Regions from separate parts of the Homo sapiens genome. Here regions 2, 3 and 4 are each linked to region 1. The links are contacts of gene promoters, found by promoter capture Hi-C in blood cells and fetal thymus (Javierre and others, 2016). All regions are on one chromosome and are shown on one strand. The core of a region is centred on a gene start or on the middle of the fragment in contact, and the rest is flanking DNA. Distances in the headings are between cores, read along the strand shown.

Evidence for each region. The method cuts DNA at HindIII sites, captures the fragments that hold promoters and counts their contacts. A CHiCAGO score of 5 or more calls a contact.
Region 2: a fragment that was not itself captured here is called in contact with the fragment with the promoter of GNPNAT1 in region 1 in 1 of 17 cell types (M2 macrophages); the score reaches 5.1 in M2 macrophages.
Region 3: a contact is called between a fragment that was not itself captured here and the fragment with the promoter of GNPNAT1 in region 1, in 1 of 17 cell types (M1 macrophages). The highest score is 5.4, in M1 macrophages.
Region 4: a contact is called between a fragment that was not itself captured here and the fragment with the promoter of GNPNAT1 in region 1, in 2 of 17 cell types (erythroblasts and M2 macrophages). The highest score is 5.8, in erythroblasts.

Annotation. Positions count from the first base shown.
Region 1 is chr14:52,787,003-52,794,238 of GRCh38, forward strand. GNPNAT1 (glucosamine-phosphate N-acetyltransferase 1) reads right to left here and starts at 4,605. Exons shown (of 6, transcript NM_198066.4): 1 at 4,426-4,605. It overlaps LOC105370500 (a long non-coding RNA gene), which reads left to right and starts at 4,786. Exons shown (of 3, transcript XR_943867.3): 1 at 4,786-5,324. RefSeq lists enhancers at 3,832-3,921, 4,002-4,091, 4,199-4,712, 4,713-5,227 and silencers at 4,402-4,481, 4,582-4,801. The HindIII fragment of the contact is 20,059 bases long and covers 645-7,236 here.
Region 2 is chr14:53,282,666-53,289,901 of GRCh38, forward strand. No RefSeq gene overlaps it. Among named protein-coding and RNA genes, the nearest start is that of DDHD1-DT, 130 kb to the left of the region's middle. The HindIII fragment of the contact is 4,694 bases long and covers 1,325-6,018 here.
Region 3 is chr14:53,080,376-53,087,611 of GRCh38, forward strand. All of the region lies in intron 4 of DDHD1 (DDHD domain containing 1), which reads right to left. Among named protein-coding and RNA genes, the nearest start is that of DDHD1, 69 kb to the right of the region's middle. The HindIII fragment of the contact is 1,491 bases long and covers 1,802-3,292 here.
Region 4 is chr14:53,060,223-53,067,458 of GRCh38, forward strand. DDHD1 (DDHD domain containing 1) reads right to left here. Exons shown (of 13, transcript NM_001160148.2): 7 at 2,721-2,983; 8 at 904-979. Among named protein-coding and RNA genes, the nearest start is that of DDHD1, 89 kb to the right of the region's middle. The HindIII fragment of the contact is 1,240 bases long and covers 2,440-3,679 here.

The DNA.
Region 1 (7,236 bases), core at 3,355-5,854:
AATATTTTAAATAATTTTGTGCATGGAAAAGTTTTTGTACATTATACCAGATGTGGAATTTTCCACTTGTGGCATCATGTTGGCCCTCAATAAAGTTTCAAATTTTGGAGTGTTTTGGATTTTTGGATTAGAGATCCAAAAAAAGCAGTCCCCAACTTATTTCTATATCCAGTTAAAGAAACCATATTTTAATGAGAGAACAATTTGCCCAATAACCTAACCCCCAATTGTTCCTTATTTCATAAGTCACAGTATGCTTTAGGGCAAATATTCTTAACTTTTCCTTAAAGATGGATAATAAGTTTCTGCCTGTATAATCCTATGTAACTATATAAGCAATGCTGCAATATACTAGTTATGGGAAGGTAGTGTGATGTGATGTAACAACAGAAGTTAACACTTGCTCAGCACTTCTTATGTGCCAGACTGTTGAAAGAGCTTTACTAATTCATTTATTTCAACCATCCTACAGGTTAGGAGTGGTTATTATCTACATTTTAACAGATGAGAAAATGTTAAGTAACTTGCCCAAGGTCACAAAATTAGCGGAGCCAGGATTTAAACCTAGGCATAGAAAGAGCATGAGCTTTGGATTCATACCTGGTGTTCAAATGTCAACTGTGTGATATGTACTACGGTAATTAAGCTTTTAGAATCTAGTTTCCTCATTTGTAAAATGGAGATGAAATTACTGGGAGAATTAAATGCATTACTGTATGCAGTCATGCACTTAGCAGTGCCTGGAATACTGCAAGTACTTAATAAGATATATGCTAGTTAGCAATAAATTTAAAATTAAAGTTTATAAATTCTTGTTCATTTTTTTTTACCTTTAATTCATGAATCAGGCACTGTGCTGGTTACAGGAACTACAAAAAGAATGACAGGCTCTTACGTTTATGTTATACCAAAAGTTAGCATTCTTGGGTAGAAAAGAACGTAGTTTATAATGTAGACTGCTGAGAGGTCCCCCCAGCCACACACACACAAAATGATTCAAATTATGCTGCATACACTATACCCAGTTCTAACAATATTAAGGAAAATATAGAAATTGTGATGATCAAGCAGTCATTTCAAATTTAACAAGTTTAATAGCCATTCAAAATAGGTTTTTTGTTTTGTTTTATTGTTTTGAGACAGGGTTTTACTCTGTTGCCCAGGCTGGAGTGCAGTGGTGCAATCATAGCTCACTGCAGCCTCAAACTCCTGGGCTCAAGTGATCCTCCTACCTCAGCTTCCCACATCAGCCTCCAGAGTAGTTGTGACTACAGGCTCATACCACCACGCCTGGCTAATTTTTGTATTTTTAGTAGAGATGGGGCTTTGCCATGTTGGAAAGGCTGGTCTTGAACTCCTGACCTCAAGTGATCCTCCAGCCTCAGCCTCCCAAAGTTCTGGAATTACAAGTGTGAACCAGCATGCTCAGCCAAAACAAGTTTTTAATAGATGAAATTGAGTCCACGTGTTTTAGTGTTTTGTCTAAATTGGACCCTTGAGGTTTTTGTGTGTAATCTCATCTGAATGGTAGGTAGCAACATTGTTTTTCAGGTATGTAGATAAACAGGCTAAGTATTAATAAAGTGAAATGTGTACAGTATTAAAAATGTAAATTCCTCGAGGCAGCACACTATTTAAACATTTTGGTCTTGCTATTAAACATATAGTTGTAAATACAAAGTTCAAAGAAAACTCAAAAGAGAATTTAAATCAACCTTAACCACATTTAACTAGATTCCTTTTTCCTATAAAGTTGTCTGTGTTTACAATAAAAATGTGGTCTAGAAAACATGAAAAATAGGGTTAATAATTTTCATGAGAGGGAAGAAGTATACAGGAAAACAACTAGGATTATGAAGCCCTTAAATAATGAATTTTAACCAGGAAATACTAATATTTTCTTGTACTTTTCTTTGATGAGACAGTCCTTTTCCACGAATGATCATAAAAATAAATAATATTGGCTAACACTTATTGAAAACTTTCTATATGTTAACTCTTAAAAATACAATGAACGATGTATCATTATTATCCCAATTTTACAGATAAGGAAGCAGGCACAGTAACTTGCTCAAGGTTAGAGTGCCAATAAGAACAGAGTGAGGATTCAAAATGAGGCAACAGGGCCAGCTTCAGAAGCCCCTGACCTGTGCCGTTACACAGGGCCCTGCACTTAAGTTTGATACCCTGCTGCCACTGTTTTGAAGTTCTTAATTTTTTAACAAGGAACCCTGCATTTTAATTTGGATTACCACAGATTACGTAGCCAGTCCTGCTAGGTAGTATGACTTCAGACTCTGCTCTTAACCATTACACTGAAGATGCACTAGAGTAGATAAATTCCCTATCTTACTGTTGTACAAGGGTTAAAAATTAAGTCATAAGCAGCACTTAGAACCTACATTTGGAAAATGGGAATCAGACTAGTCAAAATACATTAAACAAAGCATTACAGATTGAAATAAGAATCTATTAACCAGGCAATCAGAAATTAACATCAAAAATTTTTTTATGAGCTATTCTACAAAACAGAGCCATACTGAAGGCCCACTTTAGCTCACTCTGTCCTCAAACCGTAAAATTCTGCTGGTGCCCAACTAAGGTACTGGGCAAAGTGAAGCAAGATATGACTTGAAACCTGGTTCCAAGGGGGTTTAGAACATAATTAAATAAGTAATTTTATATAAATAATCTTTTAGCATCTTCAGGTGCCCAGATATTGCAAAACTAGGAAATTTCTGCGAATAAAATTGCACAGTTGTGTGAAGCGGAATCTCATCATATCATTAGGTTCTTTAAAGTTTTTAGATGAACTTTAAACACTAATCCTCCTTAAGTATTCCTCAGAACCTTTTCTGATTAACTGCTAAATTAGCAGGCGTTTAGAAGACCCGTTTAAGCCTAACCCTAGCCCAATAATGCCTAGTGAATGAATAACGAATAAGACTTACCTGTAGGTCACATTTCAGAAAATCCAGAAGGACAAAAAAAAAAAAAAAAAAAAAAATTCCCAAACTGCCACAATATCGCGGAAAGCATACACCAAATTCATTTTTACTAGTCATCACATCAGTTGAATATTTTTTCACTCAATTGAATATTTTTTAAACAAAACTTCAACTATTTGGCGTCTGAGCCTCTGTATCAGGTTGGAATACGAATGGGGAGAGAGGCTGCTGCTAGAAGCAACCAACGGAGAGCAACAAGTAATAGACACCGGAGATGAAGATTTTAAAAGTCGATCTACAAATTTTAAAAAATACAATCTAAGGCCAAATCTAAACCAGCCTATGTATTTCTCAAGAGCTCCTGGGGAACCTTCTAAGTACAGGTGAATGGGGGAGGGGCGGACTTCGGATTCCTTTATATTCATTTTATAACAATTTCGATAACAAGAATCCATTCTGAATCTATTCCGTTAAAGATTTTTAACACACCTGGCCATATTTATTAAATTGTGTAACTGCATGAATGTTCAAAAGTATTTTCTGATAGTTTGACCTTTACAATCTAGGCGTTATTCCCAGTCTACCGATGAGGAAGCTGGAGCACCTGGAACTCCCAAGACTTGCCCCTTAGGTAACACAGCAAGTAAGTGACTTGGGGCTAGAATCCTCGTTTTCGCATCTTGAGCTCGATTACCATCCTCAACAGACCCCAATCTTTACATCATCATACCATACAGCTAGCGCTCTCTCCCCTATTTAGCAAATCCTGCCTAAATTAATTTCTTAAGATCCATTCTAGGATTCGTTCATGAGGGATTATCCTAACAAAACGAATCCTATAATCGCCCGTTCAATTTTGTATGAAAATTTTAAATTAGTTTGGCTTACATAAACATCAGCTCCCGCAACAGAAATCACAGTACAGTACTCGGTATTTCTAGGGGTAGGAGCCTAGGAAAAAGAGACAAAGAATGTCCCTCTGTACCCTGGGGAAAGCGCCGACCTACTCGGTGCGGAGGTGGTCTTCGGAGCAGCTGCCTCAATGGCTCCGACCACCGTGGGATGCGCCCGGGAATGGGAGAAGAGAAGGGGCCTGGGACGTTCGTGCCCATTCAAAACCGATGGCTGCAGAGAGCGCGACCAACTGTCTCATTTCCCACGCCAAAGTCTGGGGAGCGAAGTTCCGACCCCAGTCCCAGTTCCAGCCCTGCCAGGCCAAGACCAGCGTATGGCCGGACCGCTGGCCATCATCCTTAACCTCTGCTCCAGGCGCGCGTGCGTTCAACTTCCTGGGAACCGCGCTCCACACCATGTGCACCCAGCTGGCGAGGATTAACGCCCAGCTCCTCCACACAACACCCCCGGGGGCCTGGCCGGGGCACCAGACACACCTGTTAGATAAACCTGAGGGCAGGCCCGCCCCAGCCCCCAGGACACACGGTCCTGCTCTCGCGCCCCGGCCCCGGTCCCTCCTCACCCGTAGAGGCCCTGCGGTCGGCGCTCCTAGCCAGGCGCGTCGGACTCTCCCCCACCAGTGTGCACAGCACCGGATCCGGATCCGGCTTCAGCGCCAGCCCCACCTCCTCCTCCACCGCCCGCGCCACAGTTGGGAACCGCGGCCCAGACGTGGCAGCGCCAACGCCTCCACCTCGCCTCTGCCCCCTCACGCAGGGCCGCGCGCAGGCGAGCGGAGGCGGAGGCCAAGGCGCCACCCGCCCAGGCCCGGAGAGCGAGGGGCGGGGCCCGGAGAGCGGGGGCGGGACCAGGAGGGCGAGGGGCGGGGCTCGGAGAGCGGGGGCGGGACCAGGAGGGCGAGGGGCGGGGCCTGAGGCTCGAGTCGCGGCGCCTGGGGCGGTGGCCGCCGGACCAAAGCTGGCCTCTCCCGGCTCCTCCTCCTCGCTCCCCAAGGCCTTTCCCACCGCGTCATTGTCTCGGTTTATCTGCAGATACGTCTACCTAGCAGTCAGCCCAGCAGCGTAAGTGGTGACCAGTGTGGGCCTCTTTGATCCTGAGACCGAAGGCTCGGCCACTGGCCCTCTCCATTTGTTCCTTGTTGCCCTCCCTTCATGATTCAATCCATTAATTAGGACTTTTCCTACCAGCTGGCAGTTCAGAGCTCCGCATCCCCAGGCCTCTGAGTCACAGTTCCTGCCTTCATGAAACTAGGAGTTGGGGCCACTGCATTCTACTCCTTCGGGACTATTGTTTCATTTCTCAGTCCCTCAAACCCTTTATTGGATGAACATGGGGTTAGGACAGCGGTTCTCCACTGCAACAGTTTTGCCTCCCAGGAGACATTTGGCAATGTATGAATCATTTTCAGCCTCTCATCTGGGGTGAGATGTCATTGGAATCTACAGATGGTGGAGGGCACAGGTGAGTAGAGGCCGGGAATACTGCTTCACGCCTTACAGTGCGCAGGACAGCGCCGCACAACAAAGAATTACCTGGCCTGAAATGTCTGGAGTGCTGAGGTTTAGAAACCTTTCGTTAGGAGAAGAAAAGTGACTTTTTTCAGAGCCCCATTTCTGAAGTGTCTTACCTAAGTAGCACTTTGTCCCTATTTTAACAGATGAGGAAACAGAGGTTCAGAGATGTTACATAATTTACAAAAGTCTCATAGCTAGTAGCTCCCCTTCCTTGCCTTGTACCATAATTTTCAATTTATTGAAATCGCAAAGTATTTTATTCTTAAGCAATAGTATTCAAAGAACCCCATAGATCATATACCAGAAATCATATTTTTTGCTCATTTGTGAGATTTAAATTTCAGTTAACTCCTTTACTGATTTATGCTTTCTCAGAACTTCAAACATCAGTGAGTTGATGGCATCCATATCTCTGTTTTTATCTCTGTTTTTACACCCATACATACAAAAGAATATATAGGGCATGAGCAGAATGTGGTGGTATGCATCCGTAGTCCCAGCTACTCCAGAGGCTGAGGCAGGAGGATCACTTGAGCCCACAAGGTTGAATCCAGCCTGGACAATAGAGCAAGACCCTGTCTCTAAAAAAAAAAAAAAAAAAAAAAAGAATATGTAAGGCATAAATAAAATAAACACTCATGGCTGGGCGTAGTGGCTCACACCTGTAATTCCAACATTTTGGGAGGCCTAAGCAAGTGGATCTCTTGAGCCCAGGAGTTTGAGACCAGTCTGTGCAACATGGTAAAAACCTGTCTCTACAAAAAAAAATACTGAAAATTAGGCAGGCATGGTGGCATGTGCCTGTAGTCCCATCTACTCAGGAGGCTGAGGTAGGAGGATAACCTGAGCCCGGGAGGCAGAGGCTGCTGTGAGCCATGATTGCAAGACTGCACTCCAGTCTGGGCCACAGAGCAAGACCCTGTCTCAAAACAAACAAAAATTTAAAAAAATGCTTATGTACACACCACTAATCTTAAGCATATGGCCCTCCCCGTTTTTCTTATCAGACTTCTGGTCAAATGTTTTCAGTGAGTTTATCCTGTACAACAAACTGCTGTATGTTTTATAAATTAGCAAAAAGTGAAACATAAGCAATTCTAAAATCACAGAACACAAGGCTTGTAAGAGGTACCCCCAGAGATCTCATACTTTCCACATATACTCCTCCTTACCCACATTGGGCCATAAGAACCCAATTTCTCCTTAATAGACAAGGTCGATTACTCTGGCCAGTACAGTTAACCCCTTTCTTTGCCTGTAGGTTCACTTGGCAATGAGGAGCCCAAGATAACCAGGAGACAGTCTCAACTTCTGGTTTAATGGAACCATTGGTATGTCCTTTGGTTGATTTTTATTTATTTTTCTAGATTCTTAGAAGAAATGCTGCATTCACCATTATTCTTTTTTTTTTTTTTTTTTTTTTTTTTTTTTTGAGAGGGAGTCTTACTCTGTAGCCCAGGCTGGAGTGCAGTGGTGTGATCTCAGCTCACTGCAACCTCCACCTCCTGGGTTCCAATTAAGCAATTCTCCTGCCTCAGCCTCTTGAGTAGCTGGAATTACAGGTGCGCACTACCACACCCAGCTAATTTTTGTATTTTTAGTAGAGATGGGGTTTCACCATGTTGGCCAGGCTGGTCTTGAACTCCTGACCTTGTGATCCACCCACCTGGGCCTCCCAAAGTGCTAAGATTACAGGTGTGAGCCACCGCGTCTGACCAACAACAATATTCTCATTGGCACAAATAAGGCTATTACGTGGATAAACATAGATGTCAGTGATTGAGTTGAGAAGTGATTCAGGAACGTTGGCCTGAATGAGAAGTTTAAGAATACCTTGGCCGGGTACCATGGTTAACACC
Region 2 (7,236 bases), core at 2,422-4,921, 490 kb after region 1:
ATTTCACAACATGGATAGTGTATACTATATGATGTATTAATATATGTATATTGACTATATTGACAATATACATCAATCCTTTGGTTATTTTGCGTGATATTTTTTAAAAAACTAATTGGAGATATGTCTTATGAGTAGAAGGCATAAGAATTAGTGATGGATTATTGGGATGAGGGTGAGGCAGATAAGGAGGTCAATACTAGGTCATATTTTGTGTTTTTTACGGTCCTTGACACTTGTGATCATATATTAGAATTACCTATGACTCTTTGAATGAGAATCAGTATTTACAAAACCTACTGGCCATGAAATTCCCCAAGTACTTTGGGAAATGCCTACTAGACCCTTTCTTTTACATGTAGGGAGGGTATCTTATATTTATAATAGTTCATATATTAAATTCCAGTTATGAAAACTTGTATTTAAAGCAATTTGCTTTTTCCTTTAGGGCACAGTTTATATTATTTTTTTGTTTTGTTTTGTTTTTGTTTGCTTGAGATGGAGGTTTGCTCTGTTGCCCAGGCTGGAGTGCAGTGCCATGATTGGGCTCACTGCAATCCCCACCTCCCTGGTTCAAGCGATTCTCCTGCCTCAACCTTCCATGTTGTTGGGATTACAGGTGCCTGCCATCATGCCCAGCTAATTTTTGTATTTTTAGTAGAATCGGGGTTTCACCACGTTGGCCAGGGTGGTCTCAAACTCCTGACCTCAGGTGATCCGCCCACCTTGACCTCCCAAAGTACTGGGATTACAGACGTGAGCCACCGTGCCCAGCTATATCATTTTTTAAACCCCTCACTTATATATAGTATTTGCCCAGTAAATATTCATTGAGTGAATGTTTTTCACTAATATAAAGTCAGAAAAATGTTCGATCTGCCAGTAAGTAGTTTAGTGTTGATAATTTAGGTTTACCTTGTAAAATTGCTTAGGTTTATAGAAAAGGAAACACAAAAGATGGAATATAATTTCTATTCAAGATCACATAATTTATATTTCTTAATATCTTCTATTATGTTTATACATTTCAGTTGTATAAAATAAACAGAAAACTCTTTAGATTTGAATATTACAGATCTTTAAATGGAATTTTTGAAAAATATTTTGGAAAATGCTGTCCTTGCATTTAGGGAGGGTACCCCACATTTAGAATTGTTCAAAAGTTAAATTCTAGTTATGAAATCCTCCATTTAAAGCAATCTTTGTTTTCTTCAGCTCTTCTCTTTACATTTAATATAAATTAGTTTTCTGAAATCTAACATTTTAAGCTAAAATTTCAAGAGTCACCTCTTTTTGCCAAATAATACCTTCTTCCTTACACGTAAGCTTAAGTATCACTATTAATGGAAAAGAAAATGTATGTTTCTAATGCTGCAGTTATGGTGCTTGATTTTGGAGGAAAGTCATTGATTTGGCAAGAAAATTCTACAGCAATAACTGTCTTTCACTAGATAGTGGACAAAACACTGTCTTTGTGTTCAAGATCAAAATGTTACTGCTTTCCTGATGTAAGTTTCCTCTTTCATTTTTAAAGGCATGATCCAATTATTTTGATATGTTGTTAGCAAAGTGGCTTTGGTGTGTCAAGTATAATGCTTAATTGTTTGCATCCTATCAAATGTAATGCCACCATTAAATTTTTCCCTTAAGTCACTCAAGTACTCAAGCAGCTAATAAAAAGCCCAATTCTTAGTCTTATTGTAAAAACAGTCCCAGGCAGTTGAATTGGCAATCAATTGTTTCTGTAAATTCCTTCTTTACCAAATAATTTCTTAAGTTCACATATATCTAGTAGAGAGAAGATACAGGAAGCTCCCTGAATTTTCTGAAAGGCAGGAACCTTAAACTATTCAGGGTGATAAACTACATGGTTCTATGTTATTATATACTATATAATTTATTTTTTTTACTCAATGTATGGTAATGGTCCTGTTGTGGTCTGGCATCTTCTGGGCACTTACTTCAACTTTAGAACCTAATACTATTCCAGGGTTAGATTCCAAAGGTAACATAAGGACAAAAGTAATGAGGGTGGCCGGGTGTACTGGCTCATGCCTGTAATCCCAGCACTTTGGCAGGCCAAGGTTGGTGGATCACCTGAGGTCAGGAGTTTGAGACCAGCCTGGCCAACATGGTGAAACCCTGTCTCTACTAAAAATACAAAAATTAGCCAGGTGTGGCAGCACGTGCCTGTAATCCCAGCTACTCGGGAGGCTGAGGCAGGAGAATCGGCTTGAACCCAGGAGGCGGAGCTTGCAGTGAGCCGAGATTGCACCACTGCACTCCAGCCTGGGTGACAGAGCAAGACTCTGTCTCAAAAAAAAAAAAAAAAAAATTATCAGTATCATCTGAGAGGTTATTCAAAATGCAAATTTTTAGGCTTATTGAATCAGGGTCTATGGTGGTGGATTCTAAGAATCTGGTTTTAACAAGCTGTTAAATCAAGTTTAGCCTAAAGCTGCCTCCTTACATAGTTTAAGTTCAGTTTAAAGGCTTCTCTAGACATCGTGAACTGTAACCTAAATGGAATTGTAAACCCACCGTACCCTACTCTCGTGCCAACCACTGAGTTTTGGCCAATCAAATGTGGCCAACTGCTCAAACCATGTTCAAATAAGGCAAACACCAAGCTGTAACCAGCTTGGTGGTTACAGTTTCTGTAACTTGGTGGGTACAGTTTCTGACTGTTTCTGTACCTCACTTCTATTTTCTGTATTTAACTTTCCTTTTTCTGTCTTCCACTATGTGGCTGCGCTGGAGTCTCTGAGCCTACTCTGGCTCAGGAGACTGCCTGATTCACAATTGGTTCTTTGCTCAAGTAACTCCTTTAAATTTAATTTGGATAAAGGTTTTTTTTTTTGTTTGTTTGTTTGTTTTTTTAACAAAGCTCTTTGGGTGATTTTGATGTATGCTTAAGTTTGAGAATCTTTGCAGCATTCCCCACCCCTTATTCTAGCAAAGGGTTTGATGGTTATGTTTATGGAAAATTGGTTTGTAGGCCCAGATATCCAGATGTTCCTATTGTTTCAGAATCTCAAACTTGAGTGACCATGGAATTATGTAAATAGAGGACTTGTCTTAGTCTGTTTTGTGTTGCTCTAACAAAATACCAGAGACTGGGTAATTTATAAAGAAAAAAAAATTATTTTCTTATAGTTCTGGAGGCTGGGAAGTCCAAGATCAAGGTGCTGGCAGGTTCCATGTCTCGTGAGGGCTGCTCTCTGCTTCCAGGATGGCACATTGATGCTTCATCCTCTGGAGAAAAGGAACATTGTGTCCTCACGTGGTGGAATGTGGAAGGGCAATAAAAGACAAACTCCCTCCAAGCCCTTTTATAGGAGCCTTATGTATTCATTCATAAGGGCGGAGTAACTCAAGGGTTTTTCTTTAAGGGCTTTCTACTTTTGCCATCCATCTATGATGCCTTTGCAATCGAATCTTGCATAATATATAATCTCACACTGTCATTACAACATCATGATTTACTAGAGTGATTAAAACTTTGTGGTATACTGCAGTATTTCTAGTTAAACTGAGGGGTAAACTGCAGATGCTTTTAATGTCAACCATAATTGTAAGACATTTTTTCTAAAATATATCTTTCCCCTGATTTATTTAGTAGATTGTAATAATGCTAGGTACTTCCTTTGATAATTTGAGATATTAACATATTTCAAAATGATCCTTATGGATATCATTGTGTACTAGTATTTATAAAGAATATTTATATTAATGGGCTGAATCTGTACAAATTAGGAAATATTTTAAGGATACAGCAATTTGCTTACCAGTTAAGGACTGGGACTGGTGGAAGTTGTTTGCACAGCTGGGAAAAATCTTTTATCACTGATATTAAAATTGCCAGCTCAAGGGGATATTACAAAACAGGCCAACTTCTAGTTTGTTTTACCATTGTTTTAAACTTCTGTACAAAAAAATACAGCCCTTTGTTGACTATACTCATGGCAGACTAATCCCATGGCCCCATCCTTGGTATACCACTAGAATACAGAGTACTAGAGAGAATAATATAATGAATATCTTTCTACTTATCTTCTGGCTTAGTCAAATCTTAATATTTTATCATAGTGACTTTAGATTTTTATTATAATGAAATAAAACATTACGTTTATAACTGAAACTCCTGTGTAATTTTTTCCTCTGTTCTCTTCCTAGAGGTAGCCACTATGTTAAATTTCATTTTCTGCATTCCTATGCGTATTTTTATCTTTTATCTTGGTGTACATATGCGTGTACTGCAAAACAATATGGCTTCTGCATATCCATAAACAATACAGTATTATTATTATTAATTAGGCTTTTAATTTTCAGGTAATTGTATGTTCACATGCAATTGTAAGAAATAATACAGAGATCGCTTGTACTCTTAGCCCAGTTTCTCCCAGTAGTTCTCCCAGTTTCCAATTGCAAAATTATAGAGCAATGATTACAACCAGGATGTTGACATTAATATGGTGAAGATATAGAACATTTCTATCACTAAAAGGATTCCTCATGTTGCTCTTTTACAGCCACACTTACCTTCCTCTTGCCCCATCCATTCTTTAACCACTGGCAACCACAAATCTGTCCTCCATTTCTAGAATTTTATCATTTCAGGAATGTTACGTAAATGTAATCATATGGTATGTGTACCTTTTGATATTGGCCTTTTTTCACTCAGTGTATTTCTCTGGAGATTCATCCAGGTTGTTTCACATATCAAAAGTTTGTTCCTTTCTAGTGATGGGTAGTATTCCATGGTATGGCTATACCATGATTGTTTTGTTTTCAGTTTGAGACTATGAAGAATAAAGCTATAAACATTTGTGTACAGGTTTTTATGTGAACAGATTTTCAATTTTCTGGGATAAATGCCCAGCAGTTAATGCTGGGTCAAGTGGTAGTTGCATGTTTAGTTGTTTCCCCTTATTTAAAAAAAAGTGGTGAAATACACATAACATTAAATTTACCATCTTAACTATTTTAAAGTGTACAATTCAGTGGTATTAAATACATTTATAACGTTGTGCAACTATCACCACTATCTTTGGAACTCTTATCAGCGTGTAAGGCTGAAATTATATCCATTAAACATTCATCCAATCCATTAAATTGTTTCCAGTAAATCCCCATTACCCCGGTAACCACCCTTCTACTTTCTGCCTCTATGATTTTAACTACTCTAAGAACACTAAATGGAACCATGCAATACTTTTCTTTTTGTGACTTGCTTATTTCCCTTAGCTCAGGTTTCATCCATGTTATAGCATATGTCAGAATTTTCTCCCTTTTTAAGCCGGAATAGTATTTCATTGTATGTACATACCACGTTTTGCTTATCCATTCATTCATCAATGAACACTTGGGTTATTGCCATGTTTTAGCTATTGTGAATAATGCTGCTATCAACATGAGTGCACAAATACATGTTGGAGTTCTGCTTTCAAATCTTTTGGGGATATATATCCAGAAAAGGAACTGCTGAATATATGGTAATTCTTTTTAAATTTCTGAGGAATTGCCATTTGTTTTCCACAGAGGCTCCACTATTTTACATTTCCACCAATAGTGCACCAAAGTGCTGATTATTCCACATCCTTGCCAACACTTGCTATTCTTTTTTTTTAGAGTAGCCATTTTAATGAGTGTGAGGTGGCATCTCACTTTAGTTTTAATTTGCATTTCCCTAAAGATAAGTGGTATTGAGCATCTTATATGCTTATTGGCCATTTGTGTAACTTCTTTGAATAAATGTCTGCTCAAATCCCTCATCCATTTTTGAATTGTTTTTGTTGTTGAGTTTTAGGAGTTCTCTATACACTGGATATTAATCCCTTGTCAGATATAGAATTTGCAAATATTTTCTCCCTTTCCGTGAGTTCCCTTTTTACTCTGACAATGTTTTTGATGCTTAAACATTTTTCAATTTTCATGAAGTTAAATTTATCTATTTTTTCTTCTGTTGCCTGTGCCTTTGGTGCCATATCCGATAAATTATTGTCAAATCTAATGTAAAGCTTTTCCTTATGTCTTCTTCTAAGAACATCATAGTTTTAGGTCTCACATTTAGGTATTTGATTCATTTTGAGTTAAGTTTTCTGTACGGTGTTTGGTAAGGGTTCAACTTCATTATTTTGCATGAGGATATCCAGTTTTCCTACTACCATGTGCTGAAAAGACTGTCCTTTCCCTATAGAATGGCCTTGGCACCTGTGATATTGTGATTTATAACAAGAAATAAATACAGTATTAGGTTTTCATCCTTATTTCCTGGCATACAACTCCTAAAATCCTTGGAATCTCCAAAGTGGTGTGTCTTTTTGTATCCCCGTGCATAGACTGATGACTGGAAGTCCCTAGGTAGTTTTAGGATGGGGGCTGGTCACCAGAAGGACCAAGGCATGATTAGAGGATTGGAACATTTGCCTCATCTCCCAACCCTCAGGGAGAGGAAAGGGGCTGCAGGTTAAGTTGATCACCAATGGCCAATAATTTAGTCAATCAAGTCTATTAAATGAAGCCTCTATAAAATTCCAAAAGAAACTGAATCGGGGGAGCTTCCTGATAACTGAACATGAGGAGGTTCCTGGAGGGCGGTGCCCCAGAAAGGGCATGGAAGTTCTGTACCCCTTCCCCCCGCCTTTCCTTATGTATCTCTTCATCAGGTGTCCATCACATCCTTTGCACTGTCCTTTATAATAAACTAGTAAACATGTTTTCCTGAGTTCTGTGAGCCATCCTGGCAAATTAATCAAACTTGGGACATGGGTCATGGGAACTCCAATTTATAGTCTATTGGTCAGAAGTATAGGTGACAATCTATTACTTGTGTCTGAAATGAGGGCACTCTTGTGGAACTGAGCCCTCAACTTGTGGTATCTGATGCTATCTCCAGCTAGATAGTGTCAGAATTGAATTGAGCTGGGGGACACCGAGCTGGTGTGCCATAAAGAATCTGCCAAAGACTTGGTTGCTTGTAGGGAGAAATCCCTACCCACATTTTGGTGACTAGAGCTCACAGAAGTGATCTGTGTTGTGAGTAGAGTAAAAAATCAAGTGTTTTTCCTCTCAGAGCACCCTTGTTAAAAAAATCATTTGACCAAGTATGTGAGGGTTTATATGCCTGCCTTTATGCCAGTGCCACACTGTTTTGATTACTGTAGCTTTGTAGTAAGTTTTGATATTAGAAAGTGTGAATCCTCCAGCTTTGTTCTTCATTTTCAAGATTGTTTT
Region 3 (7,236 bases), core at 1,297-3,796, 290 kb after region 1:
GACTTTTCACATGGTTAAGAGCCATTTCCTTTTCTGGGAACTACTTGCTTATATCTTTAGCCCATTTTCCTATAAGGTGGTTGAACATATTTTTATTTTTAGAACGATTTTACATATTAAGAATCCTTCATCTGTAAGTTGAAAATGTTTCTTTCAGTTCAACTTAATTTTTCTTTGCCATATATTTTTTTTCCTAGACAATATATTTATCAATATTTTTCCTTATTTCTCGTGGATCAAGTCATAGAATAATTTTCTCTATTCCTAAGTTCTAGAAGAATTCAAACTCTCCTTTAAAAAAATCCCTAATACTTGTATAATTTCATTTCTTTTCCTTCCCCCTTTTTTTTTTTTTTTTTTTTGGAGATGAGGTCTTGCTATGTTGCCCCAGCTGAAGTGCAGTGGCTATTCATAGGTGTGGTTATAGGGCACTACAGCCTCAAACTCCTGGGCTCAAGCGATTCTCCTGCTTCAGCCTCCCATGTAGCTAGGACTATAGGCATGTGCTACCATGTCCTGGTTTCATTTCTTTCACTTAAATGTGATCCAATTGAAATTTATCCTTGTGTGAGAAATGGATCCAATTAATTTTTTTCTATATGCAAATCTAGTTATCCCAATAGTACTTGTTGAGAAGTCTATCTTCATTTTCAGTATATTTTAAAAGACATTGCATTATAATTATGTTTATTGACTGCATATCCCCAAAGTTCGCATTTTAAGAAGCCTAGATTCTACTTTGCCAAAATAAAGATGTGCTTCCCTTATCATCACTGAAAATAAAATGACAGCCAAAACTTTAGACTTGAAGGCAGGATTTCTTTATTATCCACAAAGTCTAAAAGTTCCTTTTTTACATCAGATAAGTAATCGCATAAACATTTTTAAAGTTTCTTTGTCATCTTTTCAAATGTTCAGTTTTAACAAATATGAGTATATGCAAGGAAGAACATATTTAAAAATTTCTAATATTTTTCTACCCACTCATTCAATTTTGATGGCTGTGTAGTTCTTATGTAAATCATTGTGGCATAGTAATTAGGAAGTGGTACATGTGCTGCTGTTTGAATTTGCACACAAAAGAGTTCATTTAGATTAGTGGTTCTCAACCATAGACAATTTTGTACTTCGAGGGACACTTGGCAATGTTTGGAGATATTTTTGGTTCTAACAACTAAGGGTTTTATTTGCATCAGTGAGGAGAGGCAAGGGATACAGTTATACATCTTACAATGCACAGGCCAGCCATCATAACAAAAAATTATCCAGTCAAAAATGTCAATAGTGATGTAGCTGGGAAACCCTAATTTTGAGTTCTCAACTTGGAAACACTACATCTGCTTAAAATGTTGTTTTGTTATAAAGCAAACTTACACAATCCTTCACTCCACAGGATCGCTATCATAATTCTCAAATGATTAAAAACTGATCAAACAGGTATGTCTACTGAATCATTTGGAGTACTGGAGTGACTGTTAAGAAAAAAAAGAAAAGGATGGAAGAAAAATGAAAAAATAATGAGGGAAGGAGAAGGGAGAGGAGGGGGATGGGGAAAAGAGGAAGAGGGAGACAGGGAGAGGGAAGAGAGAAGTTGGATATGTTCTGGCTATACGCCCAAATTTGCCTTACTAAAAACAGTAAAATCTATTTCTTAAATATCTCATAAGAACTACTGAGACCAATGGGAGATAGAGAAAATGAGAAAAAGGAATGATTAAACAATATTATACTATACCTCAGACAATGACCCATTACTGTGCTGCTATGCATGCACAAAAATCATGATTTCAGTCCTGTTATAAGCTTATTTCAATTTCCATGTTCTCTGAGCAATGAATGTTTACTTCATATTGTAAGAAGAGAAGATAGAGATTAATAGCATTTAAGAATTACTGTACAACTGAGGATCATTAAATAGCTGTAAAACATAAGTCTTCATAATTCCTCTCAATTAGAAAAAAATTGGTAAACTAATTGGTTTTAAGAAAATATATGTGTGACATAAATATAGAAAAAAATAGAAAAAGATATAAATAGAAAATCATGAACAGTGATCTCCAAGATACCTTTTTTTTTTTTTTTTTTTTTAAGAGATGAGGTTGGCCGGGCATGGTGGCTCACGCCTGTGATCCCAGCACATTGGGAAGCTGAGGTGGGTGGATCACCTGAGGTCAGGAGTTCGAGACCAGCCTGACCAATATGGTGAAGCCCTGTCTCTACTAAAAATACAAAAATTAGCCGGGTGTGGTGACGTGTGACTGTAGTTCCAGCTACTAGGAAGGCTGAGATAGGAGAATTTCTTCAACCCAGGAGGCGGAGGCTGCAGTGAGCCAAGATCATGCCACCACACTCCAGCTTGGGCGACAGAGTGAGACTCTATCTCAAAAAAAAAAAAAAAAAGACATGGGGTCTTGCTTCATTGTCCAATGCTGCAGTGCACTGGCAACTCACAGGTAGGATCATAGCACACCACAGTCTTGAACTCTTGGGCTCAAGCAATCCAAAATACATTTTTTAAACAAACAAACAAACAAAAAAACAAGGTCCAGAAGTCTATAGCATGCACCTTTTGTGTGGAAAAAAATTTGTGTATGCCTAAAGAAAATCTAGAAGACTCTAAATGGGGACACAAGGACAAAGGATAATGAGGGAAGACGGGGAGAGAAATGAGAATCAGCCTTTTTACTCCATATTTTAATATTTTGTTTTGTGAACTACATGTATGTCCTGTTCAAAAAAATAAGTTTCGTTGATATTCTTGTCACTATTGTTTATTCTCCCATTTTTTTTCTGTACTTACGGGTTTATGCCTTTTTGCTTTTTAAAATTCTTTTTTATATCATGTTCAAAAAGGTTTCAGGAGGGAATAAGATAAGCTCATGTGTTCAACATACTGTGTTTAACTGAAAACCTCTTTATAGTCTTCTAAGATTATAGCTTTAAAATGACTAATTTAGGGTATTAGATATGCCAAGTTCTATGAAGAGTTCCCTTGTAATTAAACTCCACAAAAAGTAAATTCAATTGTATTTAAAATGCCTTCCATTTATCCCTTTTAGTAAACTAATTCTGACATTCCCAGAAGTTGTCTAAAAATTTGCTTCTCAGTCTATGTAAGCGGTAAACATATTTTTCTGGAACAAAGGTGATTGAAGCTAGTCTGAACTAATCATTAGCAAGTTTGCTAAAATAAGGTTAAGAGGGAAAACTCTCTATTCCCAGGAATCTAAGACATGATTTAAAGAAATCCTCAGAGAACAAAAGGCTGTCAAATCAATCACAAGTACACACAAGCTTCAGGATGGCACTGATAAGGATGAAGTTTTGTATAGGCCCGAACACTGAACTTAGGAATGACAGCAAGCAGGGAAATGGTAAGAAATCCTATGGATTTTCCCATCTTTCTCTCTTTTATTATGCAGAATTCCTTTTTATATGAATATTTTCCATTGATTACTAAGTTATGTGTAGAATTTTCCATCAAATTAACCTGTCTACGAAGAAATGATAGCAATGCTCCTTGTAGTGGACACTTGGGTTTTTTTTTGAGCCACCTTGGATTCATTCATCCTGCTTCCAATAATAGCTCTTGATTTTTATCTGTGAATCTAGCTCTTCCTATAGTTAAGATGAAGTCAACTTCCATCTGATTCTAGGTTGGGAATATGACAAGTTTAGCCAATCATACCCTGCTTGGCTACATACATAGATTCAGGAAGTTGGATCAACATCATTAGTCACTAGCTAATGCACAGACTAGCTGGGACTTTTGGAAAAAAGGACTTATTCTTCTTGAATTTGAACACAAGATTATATAAATCACATTTGGAATCAAAGGAGATGTGTGATAATGGCTCCAAAATGAAGGCTATAGAGCAGATAAAACTGGATTTTGATGACTTGCTTGGCAATATGACTCCTAGACTCCTCAGTTTTATGATTTACTAAATCCTGCTTTTGGCTTAAGCCTTTTTGGGTTAGGATTTCCCTCACCTGTACTCAAAGGAATCAAACTGATACCTTCTTATTTATCAATGGCTCCAGAGAGAATATACAAGTAAACCTAGTTCTCAGGTTCCTAGATATTCAAGCAAAATATCTGCATACTAACATATAAATATAAACATCACGGGAAGTAATACATAATTCATCAGAGAGTAAAATCAGGATCAGAGTGAAGAGATTTCTGTAATATAAGCTATGGACATTGAAAAGGATCAAGGTTGGCCTGGCACTATGTGACAAGGTTTTTTCTTTAAAAAGTTGAATTGTGAGGTCTTTTCCAAGATGGTCAAATAGGAACAGCTCTGGTCTGCAGCTCCCAGCTTGATCGATGCAGAAGACAGGTGATTTCTGCATCTCCAACTGAGGTACCTGGTTCATCTCACTGGGACTGGTTGGACAGTGGGTGCAGCCCATGGAGGGCAAGCCGAAGCAGGGTGGGGCATTGCCTCACCCAGGAGGCGCAAGGGGTCTGGGGATTTCCCTTTCCTAGCCAAGGGAAGCCGTGACAGACTGTAATGGGAAAATCGAGACACTGCCACTTAAATACTGTGCTTTTCCAATGGTCTGAGCAAATGTCACACCAGATTATATCCCGCGCCTGGCTCAGCGGGTCCCACACCCACAGAGCCTTGCTCATTGCTAGTGCAGCAGTATGAGATCAAACTGCTAGGCGGCAGCCTGGCTGGGGAAGGGGCATCTGCCATTGCTGAGGCTTGAGTAGGTAAATAAAGTGGCTGGGAAGCTCAAACTGGGTGGAGCCCACTGCAGCTCAATGAGGCCCGCACGCCTCTGTAGACTCCACCTCTGGGGGCAGGGCATAGCTGAACAAAAGGCAGCAGAACCTTCTGCAGGCTTAAACATCCCTGTCTGACAGCTCTGAAAAGAGCAGTGGTTCTCCCAGCACGGGGTTTCAACTCTGAGAATGGACAGATTGCCTCCTCAAGTGGGTCCCTGACCCCTATGCAGCCTAACTGGGAGACACCTCCCAGTAGGGGCCAAAAGACACCTCACACAGCCGGGTGCCCCTCTGAGACGAAGCTTCCAGAGGAATGATCAGACAGCAATAATTGCTTTTCTTCAACATTTGCTGCTCTGCAGACTCCGCTGGTAATACCCAGGCAAACAGGGTCTGGAGTGGACCTCCAGCAAACTCCAACAGACCTGCAGCTGAGGGACCTGACTGTTAGAAGGAAAACAAACAAACAGAAAGGAATAGCAGCAGCATCAACAAAAATGACATCCACACCAAAACCCCATCTGTACGTCACCATCATCAAAGAACAAAGGTAGATAAAACCACAAAGATGGGGAGAAACTACAGCAGAAAAGCTGAAAATTCTAAAACCCAGAGCACCTCGTCTCCTCCAAAGGATCGCAGCTCCTCACCAGCAATGGAACAAAGCTGGACAGAGAATGACTTTGATGAGCTGGCAGAAGTAGGCTTCAGAAGGTTGGTAATAACAAACTTCTCTGAGCTAAAGGAGCATGTTCAAACCCATTGCAAGGAAGCTAAAAACCTTGAAAAAAGATTAGATGAATGGCTAACTAGAATAAACAGTGTAGAGAAGACCTTAAATGACCTGATGGAGCTGAAAACCATGACACGAGAACTACGTGACACATGCACAAGCTTCGGTAGCTGATTTGATCAAGGGGAAGAAAGGTTATCAGTGAATGAAGATCAAATTCATGAAATGAAGCGAAAAGAGAAGTTAAGAGAAAAAAGAGTAAAAAGAAACAAACAAAGCCTCCAAGAAATATGGGACTATGTGAAAAGACCAAATCTACGTCTGACTGGTGTACCTGAAAGTGACGGGGAGAACTGGAACCAAGCTGGAAAACACTCTTTAGGATATTATCCAGGAGAACTTCCCCAACCTAGCAAGGCAGGCCAACATTCAAATTCAGGAAATACAGAGAACACCACAAAGATACTCCTCGAGAAGAGCAACTCCAAGACACATAATTGTCAGATTCACCAAGGTTGAAATGAAGGAAAAAATGTTAAGGGCAGCCAGAGAGAAAGGTCAGGTTACCCACAAAGGGAAGCCCATCAGACTAATGGCGGATCTCTCGGCAGAAACTCCACAAGCCAGAAGAGAGTGGGGGCCAATATTCAACATTCTTAAAGAAAAGAATTTTCAACCCAGAATCTCATATCCAGCCAAACCAAGCTTCATAAGTGAAGGAGAAAAAAATCTTTTACAGACAAGCAAGTGCTGAGAGATTCTGTCACCCCCGGGCCTGCCTTACAAGAGCTCCTGAAGGAAGCACTAAACATGGAAAGGAACAACTGGTACCAGCCACTGCAAAAACATGCCAAATTGTAAAGACCATTGATGCTGGGAAGAAACTGCAGCAATTAATGGGCAAAATAACCAGCTAACATCATAATGACAGGATCAAATTCACACATAACAATATTAACCTTAACTGTAAATGGGCTAAATGTCCCCAGTTAAAAGATACAGACTGGCAAATGGGATAAAGACCCATCAGTGTGCTGTATTCAGGAGACCCATCTCACATGCAGACACACACACAGGCCCAAAATAAAGGGGTGGAGGAAGCTCAACCAAGCAAATGAAAAGCAAAAAAAAAAAAAAAAAAAAAAGCAGGGATTGCAATCCTAGTCTCTGATAAAACAGACTTTAAACCAACAAAGATCGAAAGAGACAAAGAAGGACGTTACATAATGGTAAAGGGATCAATTCAACAAGAAGAGCTAACTATCCTAAATATATATGCACCTAATACAGGAGCACCCAGATTCATAAAGGAAGTCCTTAGAGACCCTACAAAGAGACTTAGACTCCCATAGAATAATAATGGGAGACTTTAACAACCCACTGTCAATATTAGACGGATCAACGAGATAGAAGGTTAACAAGGATATCCGGGACTTGAACTCAGCTCTGCACCAAGCAGACCTAATAGACATCTGCAGACCTCTCCACCCCAAATCAATAGAATATACATTCTTCTCAGCATCACATCACACTTATTCCAAAATTGACCACACAGTTGGAAGTAAAGCACTCCTCAGCAAAGGTAAAAGAACCCAAATGACAACAAACTGTGTCTCAGACCACAGTGTAATCAAATTAGAACTCAGGATTAAGAAACTCACTCAAAACCACACAAATACATGGAAACTGAACAACCTGCTCCTGAATGACTACTGGGTACATAACGAAATGAAGGCAGAAATAAAGATGTTCTTTGAAACCA
Region 4 (7,236 bases), core at 1,810-4,309, 270 kb after region 1:
ATTTAACACTGCAAGCAAGTTATTTGTTATTCAGCTATAGGGTATGTCCTTTCCAATAGTCTAGTCAATGCTGACACCTCTGCCACATTTTCCTAAATCACTGCTTTCAACAGGTCATTCTAATACTTAAAAACCCTGCAAAGCTTCCCAATGCCTATATCAATGTAAGTTCCTTATTTCTAGCTATTCCTGCTCTCTCACTGCCTCCTTGTCCTGACTTCTGTATATTATAGCTAAACTAAGTTTGCTCACACAGCTCCAAGCTAACCTGTGCACCTCTGTCTTGTGCTTTTGTCATATATTGTTCATCCATTGAAATGTCAGCTTTCCATCCCTGGAATCATTACTCATATACTTCCTCTGATTTTTTTCTCACCACTGACCAACTAGGTGGTCATTAAGATTTCTTAATTCTAAATAGTAAATATTTCTCATCTGTCTCTATTTTTCTTTACCACTATTCTAGATTAGCTGATGTTTCTTGAGGTATATGAAGTTACAGCCCTCTATGCCTTTGTTTATGCCATTCCTCTTAAACAGAATAGCATCTCTCCTTTCTTTCACTTGGCAATATCTAATTTACTGAGACCAAGTACAAATATCACTCCTTTGTAAACTTTTGCAGGCAAAATTAGAACCTCCCTCTCCTGTACATATATTGTTCTGTATACTGATAATAGCATCAATAATACTGTGCCATATAACCTGAGGACTGGGGAACTGACTTGTCTATTCTTTTCTTTGTACAACCAGAAATGGCAGTGTCCAACATATAGTATATGTTGAATAAATATTTATTTTGAAAGAACAATAAACTTTCATTTGAATCCTAAAGGCATATTTCACATGACGTTAAAAAAAATACTGAGATCAATGTTGAAGAACACATTGCTCTTTCCTTACCTTAAATTTTAAGGCAGGTGTTTGTGTCATAGATGATGCTTTCAATCCGTGAAGCCGTTCTTCTATTTCCTTCAGCCTAAGAAGGGGTATGAGATTATATACACACACGTATTTATAATTTCATAAATATTAGATGCTTGCTAGCTTACTAAAGTATAAAGACGCAGATGATGGCCCACTATCCCTCACATTAATCCTGGTTGACAGTATTTAATAAATGTCTCTGCCACAGTACAGAAAGTATATAAAAATTTATGAAATAATTAGTAAAGTACCGCTAGTTGTCATGATACCTGCTGTTAACAGCTTTTTTGTAGTAAAATGTGAGTCATATACAAGCACATATACATCTTTTAAAAAATTATACCAAATGGTTAATACCATATATACTGTTCTCTCTTTTCTATACTTAAGAGTTTAGAGATCTTTTCATTTCATTGCCTCCTGACCTACTTCAATTTTTTTTTTGTAACAACTATGACTGTCCAAAATACAGGTGAACCATATAGTCTAACCCTTCTGTTGATGAACATCATTTTCAATTACAATGTTTCATAGCTACTTACATTTAGTAAACTATGGAATTAAGTTATTATTATCATTATTATTTTTTAAAAGCTATAGTTGGCCAGGCGCAGTAGCTTATGTCTGGAATCCCAGCACTTTGGGAGGCTCAGGTGGGTGGATCACTTAAGGTCAGGAGTTCAAGACCAGCCTGGCCAACATGGTGAAATCTCATCTCTACTAAAAATACAAAAATGAGCCGGGCGTGGTAGCAGTTGCCTGTAATCCCAGCTACTGGGGAGACAGGGGCAGGAGAATCACTTGAACCTGGAAGACAAGAGGTTGTAGTGAGCTGAGACCGTGCCACTGCACTCCAGCCTGGGCAACAGAGCAAGACTCCGTCTCCAAAAAAAAAAAAAAAAAAAAAAATTTGTTATTTTCCATGCTTTTTTTTTCTTTTTTTAAAGTTTTACTGGATTTATACATCTAAAATGCTGCTCCGAGTATTGCCAAACATGACATTTTATTTCAAACCTGTCAATTATTTTGACACTATAATATTTGTGTGTCTAGCCTATGGTACTTAATAAGATTCTAAATGAAATCCTTAGTTAACATCTGTAAGACAAAAACAAAACTAGTAAAAATTTTAGTCAATTAGCACATTTGTTTTAATATGCTAGTAAATTATCAAAATGAGTGATTTTTCATTTTTATATTAGAATTAATCATATAAAGAGAACAAAGAAGATAAGGCATGTAACTAGAGATGAAGATAGGAATGCAGCAAAGAATTAAAAGATAGTATCAGGAGGGCCACAAATGATTAAATAATAAAATCTTATAATTATATAACACATATAATTATGTTTATACATATAACATGTAAAAAAATATATTTGCTTAAAAAAAGCACTTAAAAATTATTTTCAGAATAATAAGAAAGGTAGAAACCCACCTCAAAAGGTCAGTAAAACTACAAAGGATTATAAACTGGTAAACATTTTCAATAAGGATTCTATGCAGTGACTAAGCTTGGAATAAGTTTTAAATTTCACTCCTAACAAACTGTGAAGAAACGATGAAAGGAAAACAAGGAGAATAACAAAAGAATTTATTTTATGCTACAGGAAAATGCATGTAATTAGCATGAAAATCAACAGTCTCCAGCTTGATTAGGCATGCTATATAGTAATCTTTGTATCTTGAACAATGCATTATTTCTTTATCATGAAATTCTTAGTTTTCTCGTAAGAGGTCCAGTAATTCCATAAAGACATTTAAAAATTTTTCAAAAGATGAGGATATTTTACCGTCGTTTAGTTATATAGAGTTCATCAAGAAGATGTCGTTCTTCATAGCTCATCCATCGTTCATCAGGCAACTCTTCTTCCTTTTGCAGCAACTGTTCATACAGCCGAACTGGATTCCAGCCAGTCATTATGTCATAAGTAATTACACATCCCAAGGAATGTGATACTATTGAGACTTTACCCCCTTTTTCTTCAAAGTCTGGATTCCGAGAACAGAAAAGGGAATACAATCGATTCAGCTCTTGCTGAAGGCCTTTAACTAGCTGTTTGAAATAAGAAAACATTATCATATTAGACTTGTCACTGACTACTATACACTTATTCTAAACTCAAATACATTAAGGTAGAAAAACATACATTACCGATCAAATATACCTAGGTTATTAAAATTAACTTAGGTCTTTCAAAATCTTGCAGGAATGAAGTAAGGTATACATACTATTATAATCCATATCATCACTAAGAACATAGGCAGATACTACCTACATAGATCCTTCTGTAGTCCTTAAACCAACTGTATAAGCCAGCAGTTCCATAGATTAAAAAAAAAAAAAACCAAAGTTCTATGCAAATACCAATAAGATTTTCAAAGACCCCCGCAAATTTCTTTTTTGTTGTAACTTACCCACATGCAATTCTAAATTTTTGTACCTTGTAGTTTTTAGTCAGTAAGTTTTAGAAAATGAGTATCTGGGCTTATGATAATAGGTATACTAACATATTATAAATTATTGTGCATTTAGATAGAGTAATGTAATAAAAGGCCACTGAATGATTGAAGAAAAAACAAAAGTTGATCTACTGGGTATTTCAAAGTTCCCACTAAGTTGGCAATACAGATATAAAAGTAAAAAGTTGTTTTCTATGTCTGGAAAGCAGGGCTATTTTAAGTTTAGAGGTTAATAATGTGGGGAGTATTTTCGTAATTTTTCTTTGTAAAAGTGCTTTCTTTGAAATTAAGCTTTAACAAATATTACTGAAATATTCCATAAAGTCAGAAGAATAAGGTTCTTTTGTTACTCAAACCCATCCTGGGCCCTGATCTGAGTTTTAAGGCAGTCTTCTTTCTTCCTACACTTTACAAACTACTGATTTAATGGCAATGTACATAAACATCTTCTAAGACATGGGTTTTAAGTAAAACTCTAATTAACATAGTTTCAGGAATATGCAGTGTGAAATACTACATGGCTCTGTCTGAAAGGAGCTATAATATGCTTTGGATTTGGCTTTGATAAGAATATCAACCAATCCTTAAAATTTCATTATTTTCCTGATTTACAATCTACATGAGGTAGGTACAGAGAAGGCTAATGTTTAGATAAAATAATTTCCTTTAAAAGCAACAGTTCTTAATCGTTTTTATTTTTGAAGACCTTGATTTTAAGACTTGTACCATGTAAATCTCAAAGCACTAAAAGATATATACTTTAGTACTCTGACAAAACATACCTAATCTTTTTGTTTTTATAAAATACCAGCTTACTCCCATATTAAAGTTTGTTAAAAAAGGAAATCACACTACCAGTAATTAACCTATTTCATATTCAAAAATTTTAAAACATCTCTCACTACACCAAATACTTCATTAGTTTGGCAATCATATATGGGTAAAAAAACAAGATCAAATTATCTAAGGCAGAGAAAGTCTATTTGATACTAAAATATTTCACTATGGAATGAGGCATAGCATGGACAGTTTCTGAAGACCTTGATGATGTCATCTGTTTTAATAATTATACACTTGAAGAGAAATGGCCTTTGTATTTCCTTATTAGAGCATATCTGGATTTGACAGCATTTTCTTTTTCTATTGCTTATGCATATATATGAGACATCTATGGTCAGACATTATGATTTTGAAAGCCAACTTTTTAAACAGCTTTGTACTACCTCTAAATGCTTCTGTATCTCATCCGCTCATCAGTGAAAGGAGAAATTCATTTCTATGTTGTATCCAACGAGTTTACTCTAATTGGAATTTTTTTTCCTTTTCCTTCTCCTTTCTGATCCAATTATATTCTCCTAATTAGGATCCCTTTGTGACCAAGTGTATTCATTTGGGACATCTCAGCCAAGATTAACAATATATACTGTGATCTTAACTTTATTATCTATTAGGTCTACAATATGATCTAATCAACTCAACGAACCTCTTACACAGTAAGCACTGGATAGCTTTTCAAAAGTTTAAAACAATTTCTAATTTCCATAACCACTGCTCAAGAGTTAAAATTTACGAAGGAAATGAACGTAAGGAGGAAAAACCCGGCAGTTTCAAGAGTTGAGTCCAAATACACAAAATATGGCTGAGGAATAGAGTTAGTCCTTTGTTCTCCCTGCTTCAAGAAATTGTAATGAGAAAATGTAATTGAGAGAGTTCTAGTCATCTATATCAATTAAATAATTCAAATAATGTCAAGATACAGCTAGGACAATTCTCTTTACAATTCTTCAATTTTAAAAGCTATTAAAAAGAGAGTTCAGATTTACACAAGATGTACAGGTCTCTCTGGATTTCTTGTGTTACTTTAGAGTTGAAGTAAGGGCCAAAGGCTCTCTGATGATCTCTTGATAGTCTGAAATTAACTTTTTTGGTTGATTTTTTAAACTGGTCCTCAGAAAGTCATCTGAGAAGTACTGATTGATATACACAACTTTTCCCCTAACCATGACTTTTCAGAAATTATTAGGAAAATCATTAGGGTTCTCCCATGAGCATGTAAGAATCTGAGAGTTAAAAGGGACCTCAGCAATGATCTAATTTAAACTGCTGTGAAGGTAGGAGTCCCTTCAGTAGCATCCCTGAGAAGTGGTCACTCAGTCTCTACCTTAGTGCATATCTCCATTTTAAAGTGTCCACTTCTATCTTTAGAGACAGCTTTGTTACTACAAAGTTCATTACAGTCAACAAACATGTTCCTTCCCATATTTTCTATCCACTGACCTTTACTTTTTAGAGTTAACAGAATAAGTCTATTAAAAATATGGTGGCCCTTGTAAGACATAAATATACACAGAATCAATCATAATTTGAATGTCTAAGGACCATGAATTGTACCGGAAACTTTATACACATTTCATTTTTAATCCTAATGACAAATTTTATCAGTACATATTTTATCCCATTTTATAAGTGGGGAAGCTAAGAAAGTGAGAAATTCGATCTAAGATCACAGAGCTGGTTAAGTGGCAGGTTTCTGTTGTTGTTGTTATTTTTGTTTTTTTAGATGGAATTTCGTTCTGTTGCCCAGGCTGGAGTGTGGTGGCGTGATCTCAGCTCACCGCAACCTCTGCCTCCCAGGTTCAAGTGCTTCTCCTGCCTCAGCCTCCTGAGTAGCTGGGATTACAGGTGTGCACCACCACGCCTGGCTAATTTTTGAATTTTTAGTAGAGACGGGGTTTCACCATGTTGGTTGGGCTGGTCTCGAATTCCTGACCTCAAGTGATCTGCCTGCCTTGGCCTCCCAAAGTGCTGGGATTACAGAAGTGGCAGGCTTTGAATCTGCATCTATTTGACTACAAAGGCTCAGAGAAGAAGGGGGAAAAAGGCTCTTTCAAATGCCTCACAAATAAACCAAACAAGGTTCATTCACCAGGCATGTGACTTAGTCCTAATCATTCCTTCCCTAAGGAAACATATACTTTTAAATAATTTATCCTAGAATATTGCCTAACACCAATGCCATGTTAATGTATTTTAATTTACAGAATCAACTTTTCTTTTTTAAAAATAGGAATAGGCCGGGCACAGTGGCTCACGCCTGTAATCCCAGCACTTTGGAAGGCCGAGGTGGGAGGATCACTTGAAGTCAGGAGTTCAAGACCAGCCTGGGCAACATGGTGAAACCCTGTCTCTACTAAAAACACAAAAATTGGCCAGGTGTATTGGCTCGTGCCCGTAGTCCCAGCTACTCAGGAGCCTAAGGCACAAGAATCACTTGAGCCCAGAAGACAGAGGCTGCAGTGAGCTGAGATCGTACCACTGCACTCCTGCCTCCGTAAGAACCTGTCTCAAAAAAAAAAAAAAAAAGTTTGCCCACCTCTCACTTAGGAAGCACCCCTTTTGTTCTTCACCATGCCTTAAGCAGTGTTTTCCCAGAATTCCCAGGATAGTATCAAGTAGGGGAACTGTTAAAAATACAAAATCACAGGCTCCATCTCAGAACCACCAAATGAGAATCTCTGGGAGATCCGGGAAACTATTCCTTTTCTTTTTTTTTTTTTTTTAAATGAGATGGGCTCTCCCTCTGTGGCCCAGGCTGGAGTGCAATGGCGTGACCTCGACTAACTGCAACCTCCGTCTCCTGGGTTCAAGAGATTCTTCTGCCTTACCCTCACCAGTAGCTGGGACTACAGGTGCCTGTCACCATGCCTGGCTAATTTTTCTATTTTTAGTAGAGATGGAGTTTTGCCATGTTGGCCAGGCTGGTCTGAACTACCAGCCTCAAGTGATCTGCCCGTCTCGGCCTCCCAAAGTGCTGGGATTACCAGCATGAGCCACCATGTCTAGCCT